7 separate regions of the Homo sapiens genome follow, and regions 1, 2, 3, 4, 5 and 6 are each linked to region 7. The links are contacts of gene promoters, found by promoter capture Hi-C in blood cells and fetal thymus (Javierre and others, 2016). All regions are on one chromosome and are shown on one strand. Each heading gives the region's core, a stretch centred on a gene start or on the middle of the fragment in contact. The rest is flanking DNA. Distances are from core to core; before and after follow the strand shown. Region 1 has its middle 24 kb from the start of CYP2J2. Region 2 overlaps LOC105378758 (a long non-coding RNA gene). Region 3 holds the start of CYP2J2 (cytochrome P450 family 2 subfamily J member 2). Region 4 overlaps LOC105378758 (a long non-coding RNA gene). Region 5 overlaps HOOK1 (hook microtubule tethering protein 1). Region 6 overlaps HOOK1 (hook microtubule tethering protein 1). Region 7 holds the start of MYSM1 (Myb like, SWIRM and MPN domains 1).

What was found. The method cuts DNA at HindIII sites, captures the fragments that hold promoters and counts their contacts. A CHiCAGO score of 5 or more calls a contact.
Region 1: a fragment that was not itself captured here is called in contact with the fragment with the promoter of MYSM1 in region 7 in 2 of 17 cell types (M0 macrophages and M2 macrophages); the score reaches 6.1 in M0 macrophages.
Region 2: a contact is called between a fragment that was not itself captured here and the fragment with the promoter of MYSM1 in region 7, in 6 of 17 cell types (total CD4 T cells, naive B cells, naive CD8 T cells and 3 more). The highest score is 7.9, in total CD4 T cells.
Region 3: a contact is called between the fragment with the promoter of CYP2J2 here and the fragment with the promoter of MYSM1 in region 7, in 3 of 17 cell types (M0 macrophages, total B cells and naive CD8 T cells). The highest score is 7.4, in M0 macrophages.
Region 4: a fragment that was not itself captured here is called in contact with the fragment with the promoter of MYSM1 in region 7 in 12 of 17 cell types (naive CD8 T cells, naive CD4 T cells, M0 macrophages and 9 more); the score reaches 8.6 in naive CD8 T cells.
Region 5: a contact is called between a fragment that was not itself captured here and the fragment with the promoter of MYSM1 in region 7, in 6 of 17 cell types (naive CD4 T cells, activated CD4 T cells, naive B cells and 3 more). The highest score is 9.2, in naive CD4 T cells.
Region 6: a contact is called between a fragment that was not itself captured here and the fragment with the promoter of MYSM1 in region 7, in 2 of 17 cell types (naive CD4 T cells and total CD4 T cells). The highest score is 5.8, in naive CD4 T cells.

The regions. Positions count from the first base shown.
Region 1 is chr1:59,948,622-59,951,996 of GRCh38, reverse strand. It overlaps a transcript of CYP2J2 not described here. Among named protein-coding and RNA genes, the nearest start is that of CYP2J2, 24 kb to the right of the region's middle. The HindIII fragment of the contact is 1,666 bases long and covers 633-2,298 here.
Region 2 is chr1:59,796,635-59,799,895 of GRCh38, reverse strand. The region is part of intron 3 of LOC105378758 (a long non-coding RNA gene); the gene reads left to right. Among named protein-coding and RNA genes, the nearest start is that of HOOK1, 17 kb to the left of the region's middle. The HindIII fragment of the contact is 336 bases long and covers 1,273-1,608 here.
Region 3 is chr1:59,924,955-59,928,273 of GRCh38, reverse strand. CYP2J2 (cytochrome P450 family 2 subfamily J member 2) reads left to right here and starts at 1,501. Exons shown (of 9, transcript NM_000775.4): 1 at 1,501-1,737. The coding sequence starts at 1,528. RefSeq lists an enhancer at 1,618-2,153. The HindIII fragment of the contact is 8,163 bases long and covers 1-3,319 here.
Region 4 is chr1:59,780,718-59,783,935 of GRCh38, reverse strand. The region is part of intron 4 of LOC105378758 (a long non-coding RNA gene); the gene reads left to right. All of the region lies in intron 2 of LOC101926944 (a long non-coding RNA gene), which reads right to left. Among named protein-coding and RNA genes, the nearest start is that of HOOK1, 33 kb to the left of the region's middle. The HindIII fragment of the contact is 3,465 bases long and covers 98-3,218 here.
Region 5 is chr1:59,829,391-59,832,872 of GRCh38, reverse strand. HOOK1 (hook microtubule tethering protein 1) reads right to left here. Exons shown (of 22, transcript NM_015888.6): 4 at 660-710. Among named protein-coding and RNA genes, the nearest start is that of HOOK1, 16 kb to the right of the region's middle. The HindIII fragment of the contact is 1,907 bases long and covers 1,151-3,057 here.
Region 6 is chr1:59,856,758-59,860,112 of GRCh38, reverse strand. It overlaps HOOK1 (hook microtubule tethering protein 1), which reads right to left. Exons shown (of 22, transcript NM_015888.6): 13 at 1,598-1,685; 14 at 1,068-1,128. Among named protein-coding and RNA genes, the nearest start is that of HOOK1, 43 kb to the right of the region's middle. The HindIII fragment of the contact is 2,638 bases long and covers 95-2,732 here.
Region 7 is chr1:58,698,402-58,702,132 of GRCh38, reverse strand. It overlaps MYSM1 (Myb like, SWIRM and MPN domains 1), which reads left to right and starts at 2,071. Exons shown (of 20, transcript NM_001085487.3): 1 at 2,071-2,148. The coding sequence starts at 2,081. RefSeq lists enhancers at 1,897-2,306, 2,517-2,576. The HindIII fragment of the contact is 3,791 bases long and covers 1-3,326 here.

The DNA of each region.
Region 1 (3,375 bases), core at 216-2,715, 1.3 Mb before region 7:
AGACCCTACCCCTGATATTATGAAGAAGATAGTAGAGTGGTCAAAGCCATAGTTTCGATGACAGAGATGGGAAGTGGGGTAGGAGATTTGATTAAAAGCGCTGCTCAGAGGGCAATAGGGTCAAAAACAAGAATGTCAAAACTGATAGTTAAAAGCTGAGCCAAAGATATGGTATTACACCAAGGGCCAGAAGCTAGCTGGACATGGCATGTGGAAAGAGCAAGGTCGGGAGAGAAGACAGGAGGGTCCTTGGTGACTAATAAGGATGGGATTAAGACCCTCAGAGCTTACTTTCAGTCACCATACATTTCTTGGTGCACTGAGAGGTCAGAAGGGGTTTTCAGAAATAAGGTAGGCTCATTCCATGACCAGTCATTTAGTATTTGTTAATTACTACTATGTACTGGTCTTACACTATATGATCCAAGAGATAGATAAATAGGACCCAAGCCTAGTTACAGGGTTCTTAACAGGCTTACAGGGAAGATAAGGACCACATATATTGATTAAAATATTAAAACACTCAAGGTTCTGCTTCAGTTATCTGATTTTTTGCTTTATTATTTTTTTTAAATGTGAAGAACCTTAAGAGAAATGCTATGAAAGTTTAAGCTGTAGGACTATTTCAAGCTTAGAAAAACAGGGAAAGTGACATTTTTCTGGGCCTTGAAAGCCATGTGGGAATTGGACATAAAACCATGTAGTCTGGAGAAGGATCAGAGATAAATAAAAAGGAAGTTGTAAAGCAACAGAATGTAGAGGTAAAGAACATGAACACTGGTATTGAACTGATCAAGGTCAAACCTTGGCCCAGCTACTTAGCTGCTGAGTGACCTTGGGCAAGTAACTTAACCATTTCTATGTCAGTTTCCTTAGCTAGTGTGGAAATTGTTTTCAAAAGTGGCCACAATTCCTCCCATGCTCCTTACAAAGGTACGTTGCCATTCTTTCCTTCAAGAGGGGAATCTAGCTCCCCTCCCTTCCATTTGGGCTGGGTATTTGCTTTGAGGAATAGAATCTGGCAGAAGTGGTGCTATGCTGGTCCAGGCTCAGGCCTTAAGAAGCCTGGCAGCTTCTGCTTTCACCCTCTTGGAAGCCAGCCAACATGGAAAAGAATTCCAGCTAGACCACTGAACAGTCAGAGACCATGCGGACAGAAGGGACATGTGGAGGAGAATTGAGGTGCCCAGCAGACAGCCAGCATCAATGCCTCAGATGTCAAATGAGACCGTCTTGGACCTCCCCATCTTAGTTGAGCCACAGCAGGCAGTGCACACAGGACTGAGATGAACAGTCCAGCTGAGCTCTGCCCAAAGTCCTGGCCCATAGAATTGGGAGCAAAGAAATGGCTTTTGGTCAAGCCACTATGGTCGGGGGTGATTTAAATTACCCGCTTCATTGTAAACAGCCTAACTATCTCCTTTGTTCACTACCTCATTACTGCAAGAGATGGCAGAGTTTGGTTAGCAATGCAGAAAAATCTCCAAGTATTCCAGGTGTAAAGAACTTACCCATCCACTTGGAAAGCTGGGAAGCAAATGTCAGGGAGGCCAACACTGAAGATTCAGCCTGAGGATCTGAAATGGGCTCTAAAGAGCTTGCCATCAAGTCAATGAAATATGAAGAGCTCTGGGAAGCTCTTGATTGTGCTGTCCTGTTGCAGCAAAGCAAATGGTCTTGACAGCTCACAAAAGAACCTCTCTGAATTCTGTACCTGTACCTACTTAGGGCTGCAACTGACTGGAGAAGAGCAGTGTCTCCTTCCGTCATACCTACCAAATATCCTGTTTCTCCTACTCATTGGTAAGCTCTAACCCAAACTGTATGGGAAGGAGATTCTCGGAAATGGAGTCCATGGCTTCTTAGAGTCTTTAGCTGGAGTGCTAATAATACCGAGTTGACAATGGACCATTCAGCTCAAAGTGCAATTCATTAGTTGTTAGAGAGTCTTGACCTGTTCAGGTCTTTGAATTGGACTATGCTTCTTCCCCATTCCCAAAAGTTTTCACCAGGTCAGATGATACAGAACAACAACAGGAGGAAAAAGAAAAGAGCATCCAAAAATGCCAACAGAATATTCCCCTCCTTCTTCCTTGAAAGTAGTAAGGCAAACAATAGCAGAAGTCCTGGGGTGGTACTGAGAGGGTGGAGCAGAATACTCCAGGTGACTGGAGCCATTAAAAAAAAAAATCCCTGGCAAGAAGACTTCTGTAAAGGAAGGGAAAAATAAATATCTGCTGAGAGCTACTTCCACTCAATAAAATCTTGCACTTGTTCTAAAAAAAAAAAAAAAAAGCTTCCAGTCACAGATCAAGATATCCCACTAGAGAAATTAGGACCTGCTCCCTCTAGTGATTGGGGGTTACCGGGGTTTACTCATGATGGAATTGTTTGAGACTTTATGGAATTAGCCTGCAGACTTTATGGAAGATATTGGTGTTCACTTATTTACTCCACAAACATTTTTTGAACTCCATGAACTTGGAAAGTTGTCAAGGATATACAGTTTCTTCCCTCAAATCTAACAGTAAATTGATACAAATAAGTCAAAAATATACAATACACTAAAAAATAAGTATATTTAGTCAAAGGGAACATAAGGATTTTATCCAAATACCACATGAGGAAGCAGTCAATTCTAGGAGTCAGGGGTGGGATTTGGAAAAACTCAAAGACAAATAGCTTTTATATCCATACTTTTGAAAAATGACTAGAAATCCATAGCAGACAAAGAGGATCAAGGACATTCCATGCACACGCAAAAACATAGAAATAGGAAATTATGTGGTGCTCTATGGACCCATAAGTTGTGCAATAGGTCTGAGATCAAGTATGTCAGTAATATAGGCAACAACAGAGACAGGGTAGAAGGAGGAGTTGGATCAGCCTGTAAAGACTTCTGAATGCCATCAGGAGAGTTTGAATTCTGTTCTTTTTCTTTCATTTTTTTTTTCAGAGATGTGGTCTCACTATGTTGCCCAAGCTGCAGTGCAGTGACCATTCACAGGCACAATCATGGCACACTACAGCCTCTAACTGCTAGGCTCAAGCCATCCTCCTTCCTCAGCCTCCTGAGTAGCTGGGACTACAGGTGTGAGTCACTTCACCCAGCTTGGATTTTCTTCTTTAAGTCAGTATTTTCCAAAATGGGTTTGCATTTGCACCAAGGGTTGCACTACATTCTCCATCAGGATGCTGAAAAAAAATTTTGATAATGATAATATTGCTACAGCAGTCCTTTAAATGAAATACCCAAATAAACTGAAGGTAGAACAACACAGGGTTTAACTGAGGTTTTCAAAAATAATCAAATGCATCCAATTGCATTGCTGTCATCAAAAATATGATTATTAGTGCAATAAGGTAGTGTATACT
Region 2 (3,261 bases), core at 191-2,690, 1.1 Mb before region 7:
TTTAAAATATTGAAATCATAACAAGTGTCTTTGGAATGAAATTAGAAATCTATAACAGAAGGGAAACTGGAAAATTCACAAATATGCGGAAATTAAACAACATACTCTTAAATAACCAATGGGCCAAAGAAGAAATCACAAGGGGATTTAGAAAATAGAGATGTATGAACATGAAAACACAACATACCAAAATCTATGAGATACAATGAAAGCAGTGCTCAGAGGGAAATTTATACTTTTAAATGCCTACGTTAAAAAAAAATCTTATATAAATAACCTAACCTTCCTAAGTGACTAGCAAAAAAAAAAAAAAAAAAAAAAAAAGGCAGACTAAGCCCACAGCAAACAGAAGGGCTGAAATAATAAAGATTTGAGCAGAGGTAAATGAAACAAAACATAGAAAAACAATAAAGAGAATTAATGAAACTAAACTTTGTTCTTTGAAAAGATCAACAAAATTGCCAAACTTTTACCTCAACTGATGAAGACAAAAAGAAGATTCAAATAAAAAATGAAAGTGGTAATATTACTATTAGCCTTATGACAATAAAAAGAATTATATAGAGTGCTATAAACATTTCTATGTGAAAAAAAATCATATAACCTAAACAAAATGAACAACTTCCTAGAAACACACAAACTACACACACAAACTATCAAAATTGACTCAAGATGAAATCTGAATAGACTTAAAACAAGTAAGGATATTGAATCAGTAATCAAAAATTCTAACAGAAAAAAGCTCATGACTGGGTGGCTTCACTGGCAAAGTCTACCAAATATTTTATGAAGCAGAGTAATTCTTTTCAAACTTCCAAAAAGTAGAAGGGGAGGAAATACTTCCCAACTCATTCTATGAGGCCAGCATTACCCTGATACCAAAGCCAGACAAAGATATGACAAGGAGAGAAAACTGCATGCCAATATCCCTTATGAATATAGATGCAAAAATTTTCAACACAATACTAGCAAACAAAATTCAACACTAGATTAAAAGGATTATACCTTATGACTAATTTTTTCCAGGGATGCAAGGGTGGTTCAACATATGAAAAGAAGTCAAATCAACATATTACAACATTTATGAAAGAAAGAGTAAAACCCCACACATTCATCTTAACTGATGACAAAAAGCATTTGACAAAATTCAACAGTCTTTCATGATGGGAACACTCAGTAAAGTAGAAATAGAAGGCAGCATTCTCAACATGATAAAGGCCATCTGGAAAATTCCATAGCTAACATCAAACTCTATGTAAAAGACCAAAAGCTTTCCCTGTAATATCAGGCACAAGACAAGAATTTTCATTCTTGCCACTTCCATTCAACATTATACTGAACGTTCTAGCCAGGTCAACAAGGTAAGAAAAAGAAATAAAAGGCATCTATATTAGAAAGGCAGAGGTAAAACTATTTCTAGTCACAGATGACATGATTTTATATCAAACAAAAAACTACTAAAGCTATGCATTACTCTGTTTTGCATTGCTATAAAGGAATTCCTGAGACTGGGTAATTTATAAAGAGTTTTCTTTGGCTCGCAGTTCTGCAGATTGTACAATCATGACACCAGGATCTGCTTGGCTTCTGGTGAAGCCTCAGGAAGCTTATACTCACGGCAGAAGGAAGGGGGAGCAGGCATGTGACACTGTGAGAGAGGGAACAAGAGAGAAGCCACCAAGAGGCCCCAGGCTCTTCTAAACAACCAGCTTTTATATGAACTAACAGAGTGAGAACTCATTACTGTGAGGAGAGCACCAAGCCATTCTTGAGGGATCTGTTCCCATGACCCAAACACCTCTCTCTAGGCCAACCTTCAACAATAGAGTTCATACTTCAACATGAGATTTGGAGGGGCCACACATCCAGACTATAGCAAGCTAATAGAGGAATTTAGCCAAGTTGCAGAATATAATATCAAAACTCCATGTATTTCTACAATGGATATCTGTATTGTATATAAAACCCCATTGTATTTATATATACGAGTAATGAACAATCTGAAAAAGAAACCATAAAACAATTTCATTTAAAATAACATCAGGCCCAGTGTGGTGGCTCACACCTGTAATCTCAGCACTTTGGGAGGCTGAGGCAGGCGGGTCACTTGAGGTCAGGAGTTCAAAACCAGCCTGGTCAACATGGCAAAACCCTGTCTCTACTAAAAATACAAAATTGGCTGAGTGTGATGGTGCATGCCTGTAGTCCCAGCTACTCAGGAGGCCGAGGCAGGAGAATCACTTGAACCTGGGAGGCAGAGGTTGCAGTGAGCTGTGATCATGCCACTGCACTCCAGCCTGGGTGACAGAGTGAGACTCTGTCTCAAAAACAAACAAATGAAACAAAAACAAACAGAAAAATAAAAATAAAGTAACATCAAAACGGTAAAATATTTAAGAATATATTTAACCAGGGAATTGTAACACTTGTGCACTGAACACTATAAAATTTTGCTGAAAGAGATTAAGGAGAACCTTAATAAGTAGAAAGAGATTTCATGTTCATGGATTGGAAGATATAATATTAAGATGACAATACTCCCCAAATTGATCTACAGATTCAGTGCAAGCTCTATCAAAATTTCAACTTCTTTTTTGAACAAATAGAGAAGCTGATTCTAAAATTCATATGGAATTGCAAGAGATGCAGGACATCCAAAATCCTGAAAAAGAAAGCAAAAAGAACTTAAACCCATACTTCAAAACTTACTACAAAGTTACAAAAATCAAAACAGTGTACTATTGGAATAAAGGTAGATATATAGGTCACTGGAGTATAATTGAGAGTCCAGAAAGAAATCAATATATCTATGGATAATTTATTTCTAATAAAGATGTCAAGACCATTCAATGGGGGAAAGAATTGTCTTTTCAAAAAATGATGCTTGGACAAACGAATGTCTACACGGCAAAGAATGGATTTGGATCTTTACCTCATAACACATACATAAATTAATTCAAAACAGATTTAAAAATTCAAATGTAAAAGCTAAAACTATACAACTCTTGAAAGGAAACATAGGTGTAACTCTTCTTGACCTTAGATTAAGCAATAGTTTCTTAGCTAAGGTATCAAGAGCACAAGCAACAAAAGAAAAAATAGATAACATAAACTTCATTAAAATTAAAAACAAAAAAATTAATTGAAATCGTCATAATTATACATACTTAGTGGGTACAGAGTGACATTTCAATACATGCATACAATGTGTATTGATCAATCAGGGTAATTAGCATATCCATCATCTCAAACATCCATCAT
Region 3 (3,319 bases), core at 252-2,751, 1.2 Mb before region 7:
ACTAGGAAGAGGTTCTGTGGGGTTTCTCATGCTGCCATTATGGAAGTCATTCCCCTGCATCATTCTTTAATGCAAAAAATAAAAAGGAAGGAGAGATATAACAAACCTGACGTCCACTGATACGGGAATGAGCAAATAAATTGTGGCATAGTAATAGAATACTATCCATCTATTAAATTAAGTGAATTAGAGCCACATATATCAGTCAGGATAAATCTCAAACACATAATACTGAGTTGTAGAATAATTCGTGTAAAAATATCATATATAAATATTAGAAATATTGTATGGATGCATAACAGCTGTAGTAAAACAGGAAAATGTGGACTAGAAGGATAAAAGCTAAGCTCTGACTAGTATTTCTCTCTGGACCTTAGAAAGAGAACAAGAGACTTCAACTCTCATTTCATTTCTTGCTCACACCTGTAATCCTAGCACTTTAGGTGGCTGAGGTGGGCAGATCACCTATGGTCAGGAGATTGAGACCAGCCTGACCAACACGGCGAAACCCCATCTGTACCAAAAATACAAAAATTAGCCGGGCATGGTGGCATGTGCCTGTAGTCCCAGCTACATGGGAGGCTGAAGCAGAAGAATCGCTTGAACCCGGGAGGTGGAGGTTGCAGTGAGCTGAACTCCAGCCTGGGCGACAGAGCAAGACTCTGTCTCAAAAATAAAGAAATAAAATAAAATATTGTAAGCAGAATATGTGACTCTATGTTGAGTACATGAGTGTGTACTATACTATTCCTGAGCTATGTTTCATGTTTTCAGTCTCACCATTTGTGAAACCCAAGCAGGCACTCACCAGATGGTATGAAAGGCTGGAACCTGGAGGTCCCACAGTCTTGGGGCTTTGGAGAGGAGCCTAATAGAGCAAACCAGCAAGGATCGGAACTAAGACATTCCTTCAACAAATGTTAATTAAGCACTTATTATGGCTGCTGCTCAGTGCTAGCAGCTTTGGTGTAGTGCCTTTTAATCTTCCAGACACTTTCAAATACAGGACCTCGTTTAGATGTGTTTCAGAAGGGTGGATTTATTTGTTCACCACATACTTAGTACTTAACTTTTCTGTTTCCTCAACAGCAAGATGAGACTACCGAGAGCTTCTCCTTCATAATTTTGTCAAAATGAAATAATAATCTATGTAAAGAGGCGGATGTGCTGCCTGGCATATAGTAAGAGCCCAAGAAATGTTAGGTACTGCTGTTGTTATCGCTGTTTACCAGGCACAGTTCCAATCATAGGAGAGACGGTGATTGAACCGAACAGAGGCTCAAATGTCTGTGGCGCTCTCAGTAAACCCATGAGCTTTCTAAATAGAAAAGAAACTGCTCCTAGCCTGGCCTTTTCTGAGACCGGTGCGTGTCCTCCCGGGAATCCAGCGCCTGGCATCTTCGCAGGGTGCTGCGAAGGGGCGGGCTGGGAGGCGGGGCACGGCTGGGAGCGAGGCGGGGCGGGGACCGTCGCCTGCTGGGACCGCCGCCTGCTTGGACCGCAGAAGAGCAGGAGGACGTCTGAGCCATGCTCGCGGCGATGGGCTCTCTGGCGGCTGCCCTCTGGGCAGTGGTCCATCCTCGGACTCTCCTACTGGGCACTGTCGCCTTTCTGCTCGCTGCTGACTTTCTCAAAAGACGGCGCCCAAAGAACTACCCGCCGGGGCCCTGGCGCCTGCCCTTCCTTGGCAACTTCTTCCTTGTGGACTTCGAGCAGTCGCACCTGGAGGTTCAGCTGGTAGGAGTGGGAGAAGGTGCCTAGCGTGTCCTGACCCTAACTCTGTTCTGCAGCACAAGGGACGTTCCGGCAACGTGGGTGGGGTGGGGGATGAAGGGCAGGAAGAGGTGTGGCTAACGCTGGTAACCTGGTAAAACCCACTTTGAGTTTCATTTCCTAACCCATTAACTGGCATGATTCCACCTGCACTTTCTAGGGATGGAATATTATTAAATGTTTACTATTTGCATGTTGTCATGTTAAACATTACTGGAACACCTTACTTGTAATGTGATTACCTTGCCCTCTTTTATATGATTGTCCTTAAAAATGCTATACTTTCTTTCTGAGAAACTTCATTTCCCATACATAAAATGGTGATAATACTACCTCAATCTTGATCATTTCTCAACTGAGTTATTCCCACTACACTAACTGAGCCCTCCAGCTTCAACCTCCTTCCCTTGCAGTGCACTCTCACTAAGTAATAATTTTAAAATGTTCTTCCTCTGCTTAAATTTTTGCCAAACGGTGTTCAGACTCCTGACTGAACCACCTGGGACCCTTCTTGATGCAGCTTCTTTCCGTCTCTATACAATAATCTCCTATCAGGGCTCCCCGACTCTGGTGACCAAGTTCTTTCAAGTTCTCTCAGACATCAAACCCTATCTCAAGAAACCAATACTGGTTTTCCTGCCACTCAGCACAGGTAACTTGCTGAGAGACAACAGTGTGACAAGTGATTATGAAGATTAGATAAAATAGTGAATGGTCAATACTGACATATAGTTGGTACATAACAAATAGTAGTTCCCCTTTCCCTGCACATGCCTGCAGTACTTTAAACACATGGCTGTATATTGCCCTCAAATATTGATAGACAAAGTTTTATCACTTTATGGGAGAAATACCCAATTGGTAATACTAAGTGACAGAATTAGCCACAGAATGTTAAAACTAAGCCCCCAAACCTGTGTCCTTATTTAATTAATATGTTGTTTAATTTCCAAGTATGTGGAGATTTTCTTGTTATCATTTCTGTTAATTATTTCCAGTTTGACTCCATTGTGGTCAAACATCATACTATGTACAATTTCAGTTCTTTTAAATATGTTAAGGTTGATTAAATGACACAAGATATAGTCTATCTTGATAAATGTGCCATGGAGGCTGGAAAAAATATGTATTTGACTATTGTTGGGTGGAATAATTGATATAAATTATTGTTGGGTGAAGTAATTGATATCAATATCAATTTGATTTTACTGGGTAATGATATTGTTTGGTTTGCCTATATCCTTGTTGACTTGTTATCTACTTATTCTATCAATTACTGAAAGAAGAATGTTGAAGTTTCAAAGGACAGTTGAGAGTATCTATTTCTCCATTCAGTTCTAGTAGTTTTTCCTTCATGTATTTAGAAACTCTGTTGTTTTGCACATACACATTTAAGATTATCATGTCTTCTTAGTGAATTGATCCTTTTATCCTGTAATGTCCCTCTTAATTCTTCATAATTTTATTTGCCTAAACTGTACTTTATCTGATATAATATAGCCACAACTTTTTTTCTGATTAGTATGTGCATGGTATATGCATTTCT
Region 4 (3,218 bases), core at 581-3,080, 1.1 Mb before region 7:
ATCAAAATGTTACTGATGTATAAGTTTCTTATAGTTTTATAAATATTTATAGAGTATGTGTTTTCACATATATTTTCTCATAACTCAAGATAAAGCTTTAACAAGTTTCCTTTTAACATACATATCTCCCTATGTGTGTATAAATATATAATCAAGAGTTTGATTCTCTGGGGGAAGTATCAAAACTGGCTGATGTGCATCACTAAGATATTCTTTAAGCAAACCGGTCACCTTCTATTCTGTTGTGTGAAATTCAGGTGCATTGGTCTGTGAGCCTTGCTTAAGCTGACAGCCTGGCGCTTTCTGTTTCTCCCCAAGTTGAGTATATGAGACTCTGACATTGACACAGATATGGCTATTTCAGCTTCAGAAACATTCTATTCTTTGACATATTTTAGAATTAAAATTAAGAAAATGTTCAAGATTCTGACCCCTTTCAATCTAGTATCTTCCTTGATTTTGTTCTTTTCCATGTTCTTTCCACTGTTCCAATTGTTTCAAAGATGAACAACAAACATTTGATGATGTTTTTACATTTTAAAGTTTGCTCCTTTATCACCTCATTATATTTCCATTATCATTCTGTGTAGTGCTATCAAGACTCACATTTTCCCAATGAAAATATTAATGTTCTGACATTCAGAACCAGACATGCTCCAGGAGGACTGGCAGACCCAATGGTGCCATGCTCATTGGTGTTCACCATTTATTATAGATTCAAAAATATCTGTGGACAACCCATTCCTGATATTGTGAGAAATACAAAGATATACAGAACACTTCAGTAAATGTCCTCTATGCTCCAGGAGTAATTTGAAGGCACCATACTTCTTACTTCCAAGGCCCTCCCAGGTGCTATTTTCTCTGCTTAGAAGACTTGTGGGGCACAGTGGCTCATGCCTGTAACCTCACTGCTTTGGGAGGCTGAGGCAGGATTATTGCTTGAGCCCAGGAGTTCAAGACCAGCCTGGGCAACATAGTGAGACCCTGTCTGTACAAAAAAATTTAAAGATTAGCCAGGTGTGGTGGCCTGTGCCTGTGGTCCCAGCTACTTGGGAGGCGGAAGCAGGAGGATTGCATGAACCTGAGAGATCAAGGCTGCAGTGAGCTGTAACTGCACTATTGCACTCCAGCCTGGGTGACAGAGTGCGACACTGTCTCTAAAAATAAAAATAAAAAAAGACTCACTCTAACTTTTCTGAACTCTTCTTCACTTCTCTAAACTCCATGAAGTGAGTATCAGCTCTGCATTAACTACTGTATTCCCTGTCACTAGCAAAGTACATTGGTAAATGCTCATTTAGTATTTTTTGAATGATTGAACTCAGCCTATTATCTTGTTGCCTCTTGCTGCCCCTGTAGTAATTATATTTCATTGCTGCCTTTGTAATTATAGCACACATTTCTCTTGCACTTAGAGTCCATACTGTTGTTTCTGCTTGACTGTGAAACAAACTCTTCAAAAACAGAAGACACAGAAGATCTCAAGAGTGTTTCCCCATGACAATTTATATTAAAACTCTGTCTGGGCTCACTGTCAGTTCGAAATAAGAAGAATCAATAAGAGACAACACTGGGAACTAAACATAAAACCTGTTGGAATTCACTGGTTAAATAAAATTAGGTTGGGCATGGTGGCCCATGCTTATAATCCCAGTACTTTGGGAGGCCAAGGCAGGGGGATTGCTTGAGGCCAGCAGTTTGAAGCTGCTGTGAGCCATGATCATGCCATTGCACTCCAGCCAGGGCAACAGAGTGAGACCCTGTCTCAAAGAAAAAAAATTAACCAGTTTCTGGCTTTTCTAACTAGAAATAATAGAATTATATATTGTATCCTGTTTACAAGATTTTCAACTACATTGTTTAATTAGTTACATTCAGTATATAATATCTATGACAAAGTTAGAATAAAGTTATTACTTCTAAAATGAGCAAAATATAATCAAAAGCCTTAATGGGAAGAAATATCGTAACTGTATTATATATTCACGTTGTTATGTTGGTGTAAGATATGTACATTTTAAACCTAAGAAACAGTGACATAATCATCTTCATAATCTTCTATTCAAACATTTGCACATTTCTGGCATGAGCACAGTGCCGGGCATAGAGTGGGTGTTTGACAAATGTTTTTGAAATAAGTGAATACATATACTATTACCGATATTTGACAAGAACTTTATGGTGTGCAAAGCCATTGTTTCATTTGAACCTCATAACAACCCAGTGAGTTGGGTAGAGAAGTGATTACCACCAACTCTACCTTAAAATTGAAAAAAAGAGCGACCCAAAGGGATTAATTAATTTGTCCAAGTTCACACACAGCTAGTATGTGGTATGGCTGCATTTCAGATCCAAGTCTTGGGTATCTAAGTCTCAAGTCTATTCTGACTTCACTTCCAAACTTAAATTTATGTATGGTGAAAAAACTAAGAATTCCTTAACATTTTAAATGGCATTCAGTGTATTTCTAAAATATCAAAATAAAATTGCTCTAATTTTATTAAAATTAGAGAATCATATATCTACATAGAATAGACACTATTAAAACAAATTTAGCACCTGAAAGTAATTGAATAATTTGTCTTAGGACTAAAATGAGAGGAAAGCACAGAATATGTGAAGCAAAAGCAATCATCTTGTTAGTGAACTGTCAGCATCTCTTAGTACCAATGAGTGAATAATTATCACAAAAGGAAAGAAAAAATAAATCATTATCAAGCCTGCCTGTAATAGTGTTCCCCTGGGGATAATTATTTGTCTTTATTGCATTCTATTAGTACTACTTTACATATTATATAAAACCCTTCTATTTTTATTTTTATATTTGATCCATGCTTTTAAAAATCCATGCTTTTAATAAACAAATTGTTTCCTTAATGTGTTTTGAACTTAGTAGAACAACAGACCATTGTTTATTCATTTGGTTCTACAATCAATAAACATTTAATAACTTTACAGTAATTAGAGCTGTTCAGAAAAAACCAGAGCAACCTCAGGGGTTCCTTGTTACCAGAATCCTCATGCTGAGGCTGTTACTGGTGTTAAAGAGAAAAGTCCTTTATCAAGTGGCAGAAAATACTTCTTCTTTTTTTTTTTTTTTTTTTGCTAATTTTTAAAAATGGTAAAACTGTTCTAATTTCAAAAAATCTTCAATTAGCTTACAATAAAAGTACTGGCATAGTAAAATAATTCTAGCATACTATAAAGGCAACTAA
Region 5 (3,482 bases), core at 855-3,354, 1.1 Mb before region 7:
ATAAATTGAAAAATTTTAGAGAATATTAAACATTTTGGGAAGAAATTACAAGTTTAATTGTGTGACGACTTTAAAGAATAGAAACAAAAATTCTTTAATGGAAAAGTCATTCAAAAGCTGCCAATCATTCAGCAATAAACTCTCTTATATCAAAAACCCTACTAGAGAACTTGTTATGATGCTGAATAAGAAAAAACAAAACTATTTGACTAATGTACTATCTAAAGTGACTTTATAATACTACTTTTATTTTGCATTTTTTCCAATTTACTTGTATGAGCATAATCTCATTTATGTCTTTGCTACTGTTTACGCTGGGAAGAAATGTCAAAATATTGCTTTAAATAGAAAATTATTTCAATTAATTATAAAGTCTACTTTATAGTATTGCACAAAATCAAATATATTAAAGATGAAGGTAATTCTACTTGAAAATCAATTCGGAGAGTATCAATACCTAAGCAATGTTATCTTACAAATCAATATATCCAAGCTTATTTTCACAAATGAGCATTCTATAAAAATGACAATAAAACATGTTCTAATTATGACTTACATTCCAGTAAAATATTATAAACAAAAAACCAAGTGATTTTTCAGTCTTAAAGTAATTTTCGTATAGCATGATGCATTTAAACAAAGTCAGATGGTTTTCATACCTCATGATAATAACTCATAATTCCTTGAAGGACCTTCTTTACATTACTGGCCTAATGTGAAAAAAATAAGAGATTCTTATTTCAGATTAATAATGAAAGAAAAGTTATGTCAGCATGAAAGACAATAAAAACTTTCCCCTAATTAAAAAGAACAACAAAAACATTATAATAGAGTTCTATAAATACAAACACATGATGCTTTTTAACCATCAGAGATTTAATCAGTGTTTAGTTAAGTAGGGTGATTCTATTTAAAGTGGGTCACAATGAACTCAAGGGCCCACTGTAAAAATTTATACACAGGCATGTCCAGCTGCAGTCATGAGCAAGTTAACTGGGTTTTGATTTTCTCTCCTGTCACTAATAACTAGAAAATAAGACAAAATACATTAAACAATTGTTTGCAAGCTTTAGACAAGTAAGTAGTACAGAACTCTGCTTTCTGAAAGAATGAAAACAAACAGAAAATGGGCCCTACACTAGTACAAGCTTTCTGTCTTGAGGCAATTTTCAGACTACAGCATAGGGAGGTGGAAACCAAACACCAAGCCTGATGTTCTCACCGATTGAAGAGATAAGACATTAGAAGTTCAGGAAGGCCTGGGCAGTTTGAATTTGCAAGGCAGACGATGAAAAGATGGGAGCTATGGAATGAGCAAGCTCTGGAGATTTGTGTAAAATGGTTCCTTTGACTCTTTGGCTAAATACCAGTTTGCATGTGGATGGGTGAAACTGAATGTTCTTTCCAAAGAAATAACAATCCAGGGAACTATAAACTGAACCATTCCCAAAGATTATACAGGCCAAAAAATTTTTGAAATTCTCACTAGCCAGAATGAAGACACCATGCTACACGCACAAAACATTCACTAAAGACCCCCAAAAAGGTCACAGCTTAGTAATGAGTCTACTTTAGTCCTAAAGGAAAGAATAACTTTAGTTCTGCCCCCCACAATAGCCAAAAATAGGCCTTTAAAGGATCAAACTGATTCCAAGTACCTTAACTGCTTGCAAGAAGAAAATTCAACACTCCTCAAAAGAATATACTTAATTGGGAGGCTGAGGCAGTTGGATCACCTGAGGTCAGGAGTTCAAGACCAGCCTGGCCAACATGGCGAAACCCCGCCTCTACTCAAAATACAAAAATTAGCCAGGCATGGTGGTGGGCACCTGTAATCCCAGCTACTCGGGAGGCTGAGGCAGAAGAATCGCTTGAACCTCGGGGGCAGAGGTTGCAGTGAGCTGAGATTGCACCACTTCACTCCAGGCTGGGCGTAAGAGCGAAATTCTGTCTCAGGAAAAAAAAAAAAAAACTTAAAAAAAAAAATCAGCATTCAATAATAAAATTCATAATGTTTAGCATCCAATTAAAAAATTACTACAGATGTGAAGAAGCAGGAAAGTGGGAACCAAAATTAGGAGAAAACTCAGTCAATACACATGGGTTCAGAAATGAAAGATAAAAGAATTGAGACAATGTTAAAACTTCTAGTTTAAAGATGTTCAAGGATTTGAACAAAAACATGAATGTAAGAAATAGAAGGTTTTTTACAATAAAGAATCAAATACAGATTGTCAAACTGGATAAAAATGTAAGACCCAACTATTAGGTGTCTACATGAAACACTTTCAATAAAAAGACATAGGCAGATTAAAAGAATGGAAAAAGAAATACTAATGAAAAATATAATCATAAAAAATCTGTAGTGGCTACATTAATATTAGAGCTAATTTGATTTCAAATAAAAGAATATTACCAGGGATAAAGAAAAGCATTTCATAATAAGTGAATTCATTCAAGAACACACAAGAAATATAGTGTGTAATAAACTTAATAACAGAAATTCAAAATACATGAAGTAAAAAGCAAAAAAATGCAAAGGAGAAATCAACAAAATCGAAATCATCATTAGAGATTTAAGGGCTCTCTACAGAGTCTATACTACACTATACACATAGTATAATAAGAAAAAATATCAATAAAGATATGGAAAATACCACTATCAACAAATTTAACAAAATCTATATTTATATAACAACTGTAGAATGCATGCTGTTTTCATATGCACATGGAACATTCACCAAGACAGACCATAGGTTCGGTCATAAAATAAGACTCAATAAATGTAAAATAACTTCTCAATACAGAGTATTGTCTCAGATCTATTAGAAACCAATAAATAAAAGAAAGGCAACTGGAAAATCCTCAAATATTTTGAATTTGAATTACCTACTTCTAATTTACTCATAGGTCAAAGGAGAAAACTTTATAAGGGAAATTACCAAATATTTTGAACTGAATGAAAATAAAGTAACAGTCTGTCAAAATATGTGGGATGTGGCTAAGATGGTGGTTAATATTAGGGGAAAAAAGGGTTTAGAGTTGATTATTTAAGCTTCCACCTTAAGAAGCAAGAAAAAGAAGAACAGGTTAAGTGAGAGAAAGGAAATAATAAAAATCAGAAAAATCAATGGAATAGAAAACATACACTAATTCTTTAAAAAATAAATAAGTAAAATTGAAAAACATCTAGCCAGACTTATCAAGGAAAATAAATTCAAAAGACACAAATAACCAATAGCAGGAAAAGAAAAGGAAACATCATTAAAGATCAGTTATTAGCACATTATTAGCACAGTAATTCAGTTAAGGACTGTGTATCAACAAATCATACATCCTGTATGAAACAAATGTCCTACAAGACACAACAAAACTGACTTAAAAATAGAAAATCAGTTTGGCAGTTTCTTATAAGGTTAAGCACATACTTATACAACTTAGCAATTCCACCCAGAAATTCACCCAAGAGAAATTAAATATGC
Region 6 (3,355 bases), core at 164-2,663, 1.2 Mb before region 7:
TTCCTGTCCACTCAATAGCTACCATTTTAAGATGCAAGCAGGACCAGCTAGCATAGCTGGTAGGGTATGAAACTCTTAAACTCCAACAAAAGCTTCTGAAAGTGTTTAAGAAAAAATTATGTAAACTGCAAGACTGTGCCTTTAAAAAAAAGCAGTCAAATTTTATAGGTACCATATAAGATTATGCTATAAATCATTAAATTGTTATTATGCCATTCCTGAAGAGATAATAGAAATTATATTACTTTGGTAATTTAGAAACTATTCGCTAAAGGAAACAAATAGTATATGCTTAGAAAACACATAAAAGAAAAGCAATAGATTTAAGAAACTATAGTTTGAGCAAAATTTTAATATATACCTTATAATGGCAATAAGAAAGTTTCTAGATCTTTTGTTTCTGAAAAAAATTTTATTAAAGATTTACATGTACTTTTAAAAAATGCAACTTTTTATTAATATTATTGATGTTAATATTATTTGTATTAAATAGGGAGGTAATACTCTCCCTTAGTTGTTCCCCTGCCAAATCCCATTCTTCAAAAGCAACTAATTTCAAGTAATCTCAATTTTTGTTCTTCTGAATGCCAATAGTATAACTCTTAAAAAAAAAGCTCATATGGCTATTTTTTAAATTACTAATTTTAAGTTAATGATTGACTCCCCACTAAGCAAGATAAGTAACTTTTCTCCCTTTATACATTTACCACTTCTCCCATCAAAGGCTTGTGAAATCATATTGATTTTTGTTTTCTAATAATTTCCTAACTTTAAAGTATATACTTAAATCTCCCTAGTTAAAGCAATTATAACATAGCACATGGGGGTCATGTCATATTATAAAAACTAAAATATGTTATTCAACGGGTTTGTGAAATTTTACTTCTGATAAAATTTTAAATTGTTGTGGTAGCAATAATAATATGATTTAGAAAGTTTAAGTAGATCAAACAGTAATTTTCAGCTCTATGAGTCATAAAATAAGTTTTTAAAGGCCAAGACATTTACAAAAAACAAAAAAATTATAATATTAAATATAATTCTATCAAATTATGAAACAAATTTACCTATATTCCACTGGCATAATCTCAGCAGCAAGATTCTCATAACTTTTTGTAGCAGATGCATCTAAAAAATAACAAAAAATAAATTAGCATTTCAGTATTTCAACTATTTTAAAAAACCCTCCCTCCTTCCCCCCCTCCCTCTCTTTGTTTTTCTTTCTTTCGATAGGGTCTCTCTCTGTCCAAAAACCCAATTCCCCGCTCCCCTCCCCTCCCCTCCCTCCTCCTCTCCTTTCCTTTCCTTCCTTTCCCTCCCTCCCGTGCTCCTTCCTTCCTTCCTTCCTTCCCTCCTTCTTTCTTTCCTTTCTCTCTTTCTCTCTTTTTCTCTTTCACACCAAGCCTGGAGTGCAGTGGTACAATCATAGCTCACTGCAACTTCAAACTCCTAGGCTCAAGTGATCCTCCCGCCTCAGCCTCCCAGAGCTAGGACTATAGGCATGCGCCACCATGACAGGTTAAGTTTTTATTTTTTGTTGAATGGAGTCCCACTATGCTGCCCAGGCTGAAACTTTTCTAAATCTAACAAAATTAACCTGTTTGGTTTAGGTGGTCCTGTTGTACTTGTGAACATCGAAGCTCTTCATTTGTTTCTTTCAAAGTATCACGCTGCTCAATTAGTCTCTGAAAAGAATTGTTGATATCAGCAAAGTATTTAATTCTGCCTATAAACAATGTACTTTATGCTTACAATTTATCTTAACTAGTTTAATAATTGTTGCTTAATTTTAAGTGACAATGTTTTAGTTTTAAGAAGCTCATTTTCTATTCAGTTACATAAATAGTATGTGTCTTTATACATGGTTTTGACTTTCCCATCAGATAGCTTATCTTTGAACAAAATGAATGCAATTATGTAACAGAGGACAGATATGCAACGGGTAATAAAAAAGCATGGACTTTGGAGGCATAAAGACCATGGTTTGAATACCAATTTCACCACTTCCTAGCTATATTGTCTTAGGCAACTTATATAACTCTTTGGCTTTAGTATCCATAACTTCAAAATAGGAATACTGATACATAAACCCTTGCAAAGGTGTTCTGAATAACAAAGGTGGTATTAGTCAAGGATCTAGAATATAGGTTGGTGTGTAAGAGACGCTGGAGACTAGTTACTTTTTACCACTGTTGTGAAACTCAACTGGAAGAAGTGGTAAGTAGTATCCTGGAGATACACATTGGCGGAAAAACACCATTTCCCAAGGACAGCAAGCTGGTACTTCATATCACTGACTATTTTATTTTACAGCCTACACCAATGACAAACTTCTAGGTTACGAACAGAACGTTCATGTTTAAATCATTTTCCCAGAACTTGAAAAGTACTACTGAATATAAAATCATGTGTTAAATGCTGTTATGTTCCAAGTCAATAAACAAAGCCCTAATTAGTCCATTACGTGTTTCAAATCAATTTAGCAGTAAACTGGTAACTGATTCAAGGGGTCCGTAGGTGCCTTAAGGATCTCTGAACCCTAAAGTTGGAAATCTAGCAGGAGCAGGCACAAAGACCTCTGTAAATCTGTTCCTCCATTAACGTAATGCACACACTAGCACATTTGTCATTATCAACTATTTCAGAATTCTGGGAATAAACCAAAGGCCTACAACAGTCTGGTGAGCATTTATTAAAGTAAACCTGCTAAACCTTGGTTAGAACAGTAAGCTTTTTGCTCTTTTAACTTTTCTAACTATGATTCCCGTCTCCCCAGCTCTGCAGTAACCTTGAAAACAAGCAGCCTTTCAATTGCTGTAGCTGTGAAAACCAGCAGCTCTAGCAGCCACCAGAATGGGCACAGACTGGATGGATATGGGGCTCCCTTAAAAAGCCCCATCCACAGAGAATTGTCACTGTTTAACCTGTCTTGCAGCTTCCTAAATCCCATTTGTAGGGACTCTTCATGATTTGACCTGAGTCACTGCTTGCTCTGCAGGAAATATTTCCGAGACATTTGGCAAATAGAATCATCAGCAACTGTTTGCCACCACAGGTACTGAAGGCTGTGATAATGGCTATGGTACACAAGAGCCTGGCCAAAAATTTGCAAGAAAGATCTGAGAAATAAGATGCCCATAGGAATCTTTAAAAAGCTCTGACATGTTCCCGGAGATCTCGAAGGTCAGCCAAGTACAGGGCTGTGCACATGCCCAGAAAAGACATGAGAGGGCCCGCATTGTCTCAGCACTGGATAAACATGAGGCCCTGAGCAAACAGGAAGGCAAAGGCAGAATTTCAAACTGCCTAAGCACTGAAGGTGTTTTATAACACACATACTGTCACAGCCTTTACC
Region 7 (3,731 bases), core at 822-3,321:
CGCCCAGCTAATCTTTTGTATTTTTAGTACAGACGGGGTTTCACCGTGTTAGCCAGGATGGTCTCAATCTCCTGACCTGGTAATCCACCCGCCTTGGCCTCCCAAAGTGCTGGGATTACAGGTGTGAGCCACCGCGCCCGGCCAGCCCATTACATCTTTTTAAGAAACCCTAATTTTGCTCTAAATTAAATTCAACAGACATCTTTAAGTGCCTACTCTGTTCCAGGCATGGTGTTACCAGTGGGACTGGTTACTGGATAAGCCCACTGACAACAGAAGCAGCACTCCCATGGTGGCCTGAGAATGGGCCCTAGCAGTGTTTGGTTTCTGAACTGGGCTCTCCCTCTTTGCAATTCTTTCTCTCCATCTTTTGCCATCATATTCAGAGTGCAGCCTGAGAACAAAGGTGAGATGGGACAAATTGGGAATAGTGTGAGAAGTGAGGTCATTTAATTAATTAATTAATTCATTCATTCCTCTGTTCAATAGTTATTGAGCACCTGCTATGTGTCACTATGCTGAATATTGGTAGTGTAAGGACTAGCAGACGTGGTCTTTGTCCTTAAGGAATTCACAGTCCAGTGCAGAAGGCAGACGGATGAAAAATTACAAGGTGTGAGTGATAGCTGCTAAGGCAGGGGAATGCAGAAGGGTTTTTTTTTCTTTTCTTTTTTTTTGAGATGGAATCCCGCTCTGTCACCCAGGCTGGAATGCAATGGCGTGATCTCGGCTCACTGCAACCTCTGCCTCCTGGGTTCAAGCGATTCTTGTGCCTCAGCCTCCTGAGTAGCTGGGACTACAGTTGCCCACCACTACGCCCAGCTAATTTTTGTATTTTTAGTAGAAACGGGGTTTCACCATGTTGGTCAGGCTGGTCTCGAACTCCTGACCTTGTGATCCGCCCTCCCTGGCCTCCCAAAGTGCTGGGATTACAGGTGTGAGCCACCGCATCTGGCTGTCAGTATCTAATTTCTTGAGAAACTATAAACTAGACAGAAGTGGTGTTTATCCTCCAATTTCTAACAACATGATTGTTACATGGTGAGCACTCAGTAGAGGGTCAACAAAGCCTGGATTCTACTCCTGGCTCTGTCTTTGAAGCTACCTGTCCTTGGACAGTCATTTCAGCTCTCCAGGCCTCAGTTACCTCACCTGTAAAGTATAACTGGTGATATTAGCTCTGCCTACCTCACTGGGACACTGTAAGGATTAATGGTCATGAGCGTGATTTTTAAATTGCAAAGACGTCTACAAAATAAATTACACAATCATAAGTTATATTCTTAAATATTTGTTGAATTTTAAAATAAAAGTTGTTCAGCACTTAGGTGAAATGCTGAACGACTTCACATAAGTGCTGCACGACCCTTTTCTTTAAAAAACAAAGAGAGAGACTTAAATAACCAGCAGGTATGCAACCTTCAGTTCACAAAGCGGGTCTAGCTTGACTTTTTCATCAGTCCAGAAAGATACTGCTGTTATCCCCATTTTATCAGTGAGAGCAGTGAGGTCCCAAAGAATGTGTGCAAGAACAGAAGCTCTTAGAAGCTCAGGAGGGCCCGGGCGCGGTGGCTCACGCCTGTAATCTCAGAGCTTTGGGAGGCCGAGGCGGGCGGATCACCTGAGGTCGGGAGGTCGGGAGTTCGAGACCAGCTGGGCAACATGGTGAAACCCTGTATCTACTAAAAATACAAAAATTAGCCGGGCGTGGTGGCGCATGCCTGTAATCCCAGCTACTTGGGAGGCTGAGGCAGGAGAATCGCTTGAACCCGGGAGGTGGAGGTTGCAGTGAGCTGAGATACGCGCCATTGCACCCAAGCCTGGGCAACAAGAGTGAAACTCCCTCTCAAAAAAAAAAAGCTCAGGCGTGGGCCACTTCCCAAGGTCTCTACATGTCAACAAGTTAGAAAGGACCAAGCCCCAGGCCTCTGGGGGCGCCTTTGCTCTGGAAACCCCGCCTCCCGGCACGGGAGGGGCCGGACGACGCTTCAATCCCGCCCCGTGACGCGTTAGGCCCTGCCCCCGGGCCATCTTCGTCTCGCGGGATCTCTCGGGAGGACGGACGGGGTCAGGTCCCATCATGGCGGCTGAAGAGGCGGATGTGGATATCGAAGGGGACGTGGTAGCGGCGGCGGGGGCACAGCCAGGGTGAGGCTTAGAGACCGGGTCTCTCTGGGGCGGAGAGGGGAGTGGATTGAAGGAGCGGGCCCTGGGAAAGCTGCAGGTCCGGCAAGGGAAAAGGGAACAGAAGACTGTCCCCTGGGCCAGGGTCTCTTGTTGGCCTGGGAGGCACCTCGCCCGCCGGCTTGTCCCAAGCCCAGCGGGCAGGGCGGTTACCTGGAGCTCAGGTACTCCTGGGTCGCTTTCACCTTTTGCCGGATGCTGTGAGGGCACCGATTTCGCCTACCACATTGCGTTTGATTTACATTTAGATTCCTTCTTCCGTTCCCTCCTTTTCAGGATCTCATCGACAGTAACTAGAACAAGAGCGGCTACGGACGAGACCTGAGGTCAGGGACTCTTGTTCTATGGCTTGCTAGCCGTGTGACCTTGGGCGAGTCGTTTCATCCCTTCTTCCACATGGGGATAGTTGTAAAACTTCCCGAGAAGCAGGTTGACTTAAATGGGCCAGGTTTTAGAGTTGGACAGTTCTGGGTTTTCCTTCTGCATTTGCTCGCCCTACCAGTTAATAGCAATGTGACCTTGGGCAAGACACTTAACTTGTCTGAGCCTCAGACTGCTCATATTTAAACTGGGAGTCATGATATGTAATTGGGAGGATCAAATGAAATGATTATGAGATATGCTTTAGCATACGGTAGGTGCCCTCTGAATGTATTCTTTACCATCCTGTTACCCTCGGGGACAGTACTGTGAGAATCCAGTAAGGGATCACATTTTTTAAAATACCTGTTCCAGCAGAACAAACAGCCCAGTGTGATTTGACACAGAACCTCCTTTGACTCCTTGCTTTCTGAATCAAAAATGAGTCTCCTTTTAGTCATGAAGAGTCCTAGACTAGCCAGGAATCAGAAAGCCTGAGTTCTAAAGTCAGCCAGCTATGTTGTTTATAATTATGTACAATTTCCTTAGAACTGTATTAGCTTGAACCATATGAAATTGCCAATATTTAGACCATTTTTGTTCTATAAAGCGGCAACTTCATGTAGTTCAGCCTAATATTAGGGCCTCTGTGAACAGGGGAGAAGTACTAACCCAGCGCTTGAGGCACTAAGATAGTGTGTTTAGAAGTGTATCATGAACTCTAAAGCCCTATAAAGACGTGAGGGGTGATTAAACTCATATGGTCATTGTCCCTCAAAGCTTTGCAGATGAGTAGGGAGCCCTTAATAACAATACTTGTTGACATTCATTTAGTGTTTAAATCTTGACCAAGTGCTTTTGCATGTTTGATTTAATTTACTTTTCGCAACAAGTTAATGAAATAGGTTGGCAGGGATACTTATCTGCAGTCTAGAAAGAAATGAGCTGGCCTTGGAAACACTGAAGATTGGTCACCTGAGGGCATTGGCTGTATGCTTCTTCCATAGATTTATCTTTCTGATTGTGTTTCATTTTTCCCCTTTTCTCTTTCTTCCTATTTTAGTTGAGGCCTAGGTCTACTGGTGGCACTTGTGGTAACAAGCAGGATTACAAAGGTTATTGGTTCCTGATGATGGTTACAATTATTGTCTTATACAACCCCAAGGAGTATCATTAATATTATATTC